Linked DNA regions of Homo sapiens: region 2 is linked to region 1. Evidence: promoter capture Hi-C in human tissues and cell types (Jung and others, 2019). All regions are on one chromosome and are shown on one strand. Each heading gives the region's core, a stretch centred on a gene start or on the middle of the fragment in contact. The rest is flanking DNA. Distances are from core to core; before and after follow the strand shown. Region 1 holds the start of PAEP (progestagen associated endometrial protein). Region 2 has its middle 9.8 kb from the start of GLT6D1.

What was found. The method cuts DNA at HindIII sites, captures the fragments that hold promoters and counts their contacts. A contact is called where the count stands out against the background at its distance.
Region 2: a fragment that was not itself captured here is called in contact with the fragment with the promoter of PAEP in region 1 in 4 of the 25 tissues and cell types used here (adrenal gland, dorsolateral prefrontal cortex, lymphoblastoid cells and 1 more).

Annotation. Positions count from the first base shown.
Region 1 is chr9:135,560,181-135,563,030 of GRCh38, reverse strand. It overlaps PAEP (progestagen associated endometrial protein), which reads right to left and starts at 1,275. Exons shown (of 7, transcript NM_002571.4): 1 at 1,134-1,275; 2 at 598-737; 3 at 138-211. The coding sequence starts at 1,229. The HindIII fragment of the contact is 9,434 bases long and covers 1-2,850 here.
Region 2 is chr9:135,647,742-135,650,848 of GRCh38, reverse strand. No RefSeq gene overlaps it. Among named protein-coding and RNA genes, the nearest start is that of GLT6D1, 9.8 kb to the right of the region's middle. The HindIII fragment of the contact is 6,544 bases long and covers 1-3,107 here.

The DNA.
Region 1 (2,850 bases), core at 26-2,525:
AACACTCTGACTCCCTGAAGCAGAGAGAGTGGGGACAGGCCAGGCCCCACTCCCTCATGCCCCAGCAGAGCCGCCTCTGGGAGAGCGTGGCTAGCATGCCAGCACTGAGCCAGCCCTTGGGGCCTGGGGACACTCACAGTTGATCTTGAACTTCTTTGGATTCTCAGTCTTCTCTCCAAGGACCTTCTTCTCAACACAGCTGTTGTTCTCCCTGAAAGGTGGTGACAATAGGATGAGTGGCCACTTGAATTGGAGTTGCCTTCACTGTCACTCCTAAAATCAGGTCACCACGGGAACTTCCCCGGGTCCAAGGAGCACCGCAGCCCGCAGCCGCCCAGACCTTCTCCTCAGTCTGACCTGGGGCTGCACTGTGTGGTTGGCTGTTGGCCCAGAGCCTGGGGCAGGGGATCCAAGGGGACAGGGAACGTCTGGAGCCCTGGTTTTCCACCCCACCCTCATGGAAGGGCCACAGTGAAGCCCCTGGCTGTCAGAAAATGCCTGGGGCTAAGTCCAGCTCCGCCCAACCCACCCAGTCCTGGACCCCTGAGGGGGGAGACTGAGCCCCCGCCCAGCCCGTCTCAATGATGAGAAACCCACCATCTGTGCAGAACGATCTCCAGGTTGTCCTCGGGGGTGGGCAACAGTGAGGTGATGTGGACCCTCAGAGGGGCCTTCAGTGTCGCCATGAGGGAGATGTTGTTGGTCGCCATGGCCATGGAGTGCCAGGTCCCTGCCAACTGAGGGGGCCTTGGGCTGCACGGCGGTCCCACCCCACCATGGCTCTCGTTGCACCCGGTGCAGACGGGGCTGAGTCTAACTGGGATGGGTACAGTGAGCATTGGATGGTTGTCTGCTATCTACCAGATCCTGGGCTATGAAATTTCCTGTACTTAAAATGACCAGTGTGTGCTAACTCAGGAGTGTTCCAAAGTCCAAATAATGAGTCACCTAGGATGCTGGGAAACCAGAGAGGCCACCCTAAAGATGGAGAGCAGGGCTGAGGGCTTCCTGACGTCATGGCGTCCATTCTGTGCTTCCTGTAGGTTTCTGAGATCCTGGGCTTCCTGCCTGCCCGCAGCTCCCACCCGCCCCAGGCCTCCCACAGTAAAGTGCCCGCTCCCCCAGCCTCAAACCTTTGGGAGCTCCAGGTCCTGCTTGGTCTGGGGGATGTCCATGGCCGGGACACCACAGACCAGGGCCACGCCCAGGGTGAGCAGGAGGCACAGCATGGCTGCGGCTGTGGGTGGCTCTGAGCTCTGGAGCCAGAGGGATGCTGAGGCAGTGTGGGCTCAGGGGGCCTTATGTAGGAGGAGGGCAGACAAGATCCCCGCCCACAGCCTCGCCATGTGATTCCTCGAACCTGTGACTCATCCTTGGCCCCTGGGCAGCTTCCTCCACTGGGGCAATGGGAGGCTCTTCCCTGCGTCCACGCGGGAACCTCCTCTGTGTCCGGGCTGGGCAGTTCTTGGCAGGGCCTCAGGCGGGAGGGGCCTGGGTCGGGTCCAGGCTGGCAGCGGCGGGAGCACCTTCTGGGTTGGGGCTCCTGGACAATGTTGGGTCAGAGGCCAGCACTGAGGACAGCTGTGTCCAGGGCAGGGGTATGGCCTGTGGGGCAGGCAGAGGGCCTGAGAGCCCCATGGCTGCCCCAGGATGCCACAGACATCATGCCAGTGGGTGACTGACTGCACGGTCATAATCCTGACCTGTACCTTCCACTCAGACATCCCCAGGTGTGCACACCTGTGTCCCTCAAACAGCCAGCCTCTGGACAGGTGCACACTGCCTGTTAGCACTGTTTCTCTCTGACTCACAGGCAAGACTGGGTGGAAATGGGAGGCAGTGGACTTTCAGACTTTGTCCTACAGTCTATATTGGATGTACTTTTTCCCACAGGGAAGCATCACTTTGTAACTTACAATCGAGCCCGCATCTCACTCCCTGGAGAGCACTTGAGTCCTGAGGCAAGACACGGGTGTCCACTCCCACTCCCCCATCCATCAGAGCAGGTCATTCCGGCCAGAGCAGCTAGGCAAGAAATGGTAACTAAAGGCAGGCAGATTGGGAAGGGGGAGGTATACCTGTCTCTATTCGCATATAACATCATTGCCCAGGTACAAAATTGCAAGAACTCTACAAAACCCCTCCTAGAACCGAGTGAGGTCAGCAAGGTCAATCGCACAAAAATCCACCGTGTTCCCACACAGTGTCAAGGAGTAGACAGAACCCGAAACTGGAAATTCAGGATTTGTAATCACACACACAGCATGTAGGCAAAAATCTCACCAAATATGGACAGGACTTAAACTCTGAACCCAAGGAAGGGAAATCAAAGACCTAAGGTAAAGGACAGGCACAATGTGTTCATGGGCTGGAAGCTTCAACACAGCAAAGGTGTTAGCTCTCCTCAACTCAACCTAGAGATTTAATGCAATTCCTATCAAATTCTCAGCAAGATATTTTGTAGGTAGCTATAGACATGTGTGTGACACACACACACACATATATACATATATACATTTTTTTGAGGCCAAGTCTTGCTCTGTTGCCCAGGGTGGAGTGCAGTGGTACGATCTTGACTCACTGCAACCTCTGCATCCCAGGTTCAAGTAATCCTGCTGCTTCAGCCTCCAGAGTAGCTGGGATTATAGGCGCCCACCACCACACCTGGCTAATGTTTGTATTTTTAGTAGAGAGGGGTTTTCACTATTTTGGCCAAGCTGGTCTCGAACTGCTGACCTCAAGTGATCTGCTCACCTCGGCCTCCCAAAGTGCTGGAATTATAGGTGTGAGCCACCACACCCCACCATATGTAGATATATAGAGAAATTTTTTTTTCTAAAATTTACATGT
Region 2 (3,107 bases), core at 514-3,013, 87 kb before region 1:
CAATTTGGTACCTTGTGGTCACAACACATAACAAAACACACGCATGCACACATAAACACACCTAAGCATGCACGCGCGTACACACTCACACACATGCACACACACCACACGCACACACACATGCACACACTGACACATTTGCACACACACTCGCACATGCACACACCACACATGCACACACTCGCACACACAAAACTCACATGACACACACGTGCACACACACTCGCACACACCACACACTCGCACACGCACATGCATACATTTGCGCACACACACACCACACACTTGCACATGCACATGAACACATTCACATACATGCACACACACACTCGCACACACACCACACACATGCACACTCACACACACACTCGCACAATCACACATGTGCACGCGTGCGCGCACACACACACACAAATAAAGGTCCCATAGCTTTTGCCTTGGAATTCCAGCCAGGAGGTACCAATGCAAACTCACCAGTTTACAAAAGAACGGTTGGATGTGAATAGCGGTTTTTATCTTCGACACCAGCAGAAAGGTCCTTTAAACTAGAAAAAAAATATGTTTCATTGAGCAAAAACCACATCCTCATGTTTTTTAAATAAACTTCACCAAAAATGCATCTTACTTTCCTACTATTCTCTTAGAAACCCTAATTTCCAGCAAAAAACCTAGGATGACTTAATTTAACACAACATGACTTTAAGATTTTCAATTACTGGAGAGAATTGTGAGATTACATTTACCAAATTAATCTTACCAAAGATTACTAAAGTCATGTGAGCTGAAAGGCCTCTGGGCTAGCTTCTATTAGTCTACAAACACTTACTTTTCTTTAAGCCAACTAATTAGAGCTCTTTCATATGATTGGTAGTGAAATATTGTTTCCATGTGACACATAAACACACAGACTTAACAGACACAGACAGAGGCAAATCTTAGGGATTTAAAATGTTTCACTTGCCTGTTTTCAAAGTTTTTTTCTTCCCTACTTTATACCACTAATCTCTTGATTATCTATTCCATGTCTTAAACAATTGTTAACTAGGTAACTCTAAATTTACATCTCCAAATACATGACTTAGGTGAAGCAAGGTAAAAAATGTACATCTCAAAGGCACAGACTTGGATCTAAAAAAGGCAAGGTCTGTTATGTAAATGAAGCCATTGTCTCCCCCTTAGTTAAAGTTCCTAGTGGTTTAGACGCAGAGACAGAGATGTCCTTACAAAATGGAAATTTCCTTTAAAGACATAAATTTCCTTTACACAGAATTTTATTGAAGTGACTTAGTTTGATAGGTAGTATTTTCAGCGGAGCTTGATTAGGTCACTGGCTTTAGGGTGGAGCCCTCTAAGGAACAGAGCCAAGAAAGCATGCACAATTTTCTGATCTAAATGTGCAATGAGTGGCCCCCTGTAGTAATGACCATTTCCTGTAAACTGTCCTCAGCCTTCCCTAACGTTGTAGCTCTCATCTGCCATGACACACACCAAGGTCAAATATTCTCACAGTACAGAGTAATCTCTGGTATCTCTAAAAGTCAAAGAAGTCAAGTAATGCAATACAGGAAAGCAGAACTTTAGACCTAAGAAAAACCTGCCATGACTCTGAAAACTCCACACAGAAAGCAGAACACCCCCGCACAGGGTGAGTGGTGCCTTTATTCTGAGTTATTTAAGGATCCAAGTCATTATGATACAGGAGTGAGAAAGAAATTCAGGCAGATAAGGAGGGTAAGAGAGTCCTCAGCAAGGTTTCCTTTTAATAAAAAGCAGCCCCCAATCATTTCTTTCCTAACAAAAAGCAGCCTGAAAAATCAAGCTGCAAGTATAGATAAACAAGCTAAAAGCTTACATAGGTAAATGCTAGCAGCTGTGGTGATAGAAGAGGGATACCTGGAAGCCAAGTCTGTTCAACATGAAGGATCCCCCTTCCCTTTTCTTGGTCGCCACCTGTGTGGTAAAAGGCAGGCAATATGACACTGGCCAGGTAGAGACCCCATCTGGATAATAAAAGATTAGGGTGGGTCGGCCAGCTTCTTTGTGCACTATGCAAATGGCATGCCTAGTCTGACCAATCTCTCATGTCCTATGTAAATCAGATATTGCCTCCTCAAGCTCGTCTATAAAACCTCGTGCATTTCACCAAGGACCTGGAAGACCCACTCAGACGCCCCTCTCTCTCCGCAGGTGAGAGAGCTATCCTCTTTTCTCTTTCCTTTGCCTATTAAGCCTCTGATCTTAAACTCACTTCTTGTGTGTCTGCATCCTCAACTTCCCTGGTGTGAGATGACAAACCTCAGGTATTTACCCCAGACAACAACGCCGCTTCAATTAGAACCCTTCTGTAGACATTTTTTTCACTTGGTACCAAAGATGGCAAAAGGGCTTCCCCTTTTTGGGAGAAATAGGGTGGAAGAAAAATAAAAGAATAATTTTTTAAGAAAGGAAGCACACAGAGAAATCAAGTGAATGTTTTTTTTTTCTCTTTTGCAGCTTCAAGGAATTTTAGCCAATCCAGAGGGCTTGTTACCCATAGTGTGGAATTCTCATTCAGATTTGGCCAAGTCAGGTAGAGATGGTCAAATCCAATGGGAGAAAGACCAAAACGACAATGAAACCAAACTATATTGTTAGAAAAAAATGCTTGGTGCTGCAAAGAAAACCAGGCAGAAAATTTCTCAGCAAGGCACATTTACTTCTGCAGAAGGGTGCTGCCTGCATCAGTCACAATCGCAAGAGCACACCAAGCTGGGAGGGCAGGGGTTTTTACCCCTAATGCAGTTCCTGTTTCTGTGTCCTTTCCCCATTGGCTGATGCAGTTCCTGTTTCTGTGTCCTTTCCCCATTGGCTGGAGTTGGACTGCACAGTCTAAACTGACCCGATTGGCTAGTGTTTGAAATTGAATAAGGCCAATTATGCGGGAAGGGAGAGGCTGTTCCTTACCAACTAGGTGGGAAGAGTTGTTTACAGAGTAAGAGGTTTGCAGGTTACAGATTAAGCAGAAAAACAAGTGCTCATTACAGATTAAGCAGGAAGGGCTGTGTACAGAGCAAGAAAGACCAAAGAAGCTTTGAAGAGGAACTTATAATTTCTGGCAATATGATTAC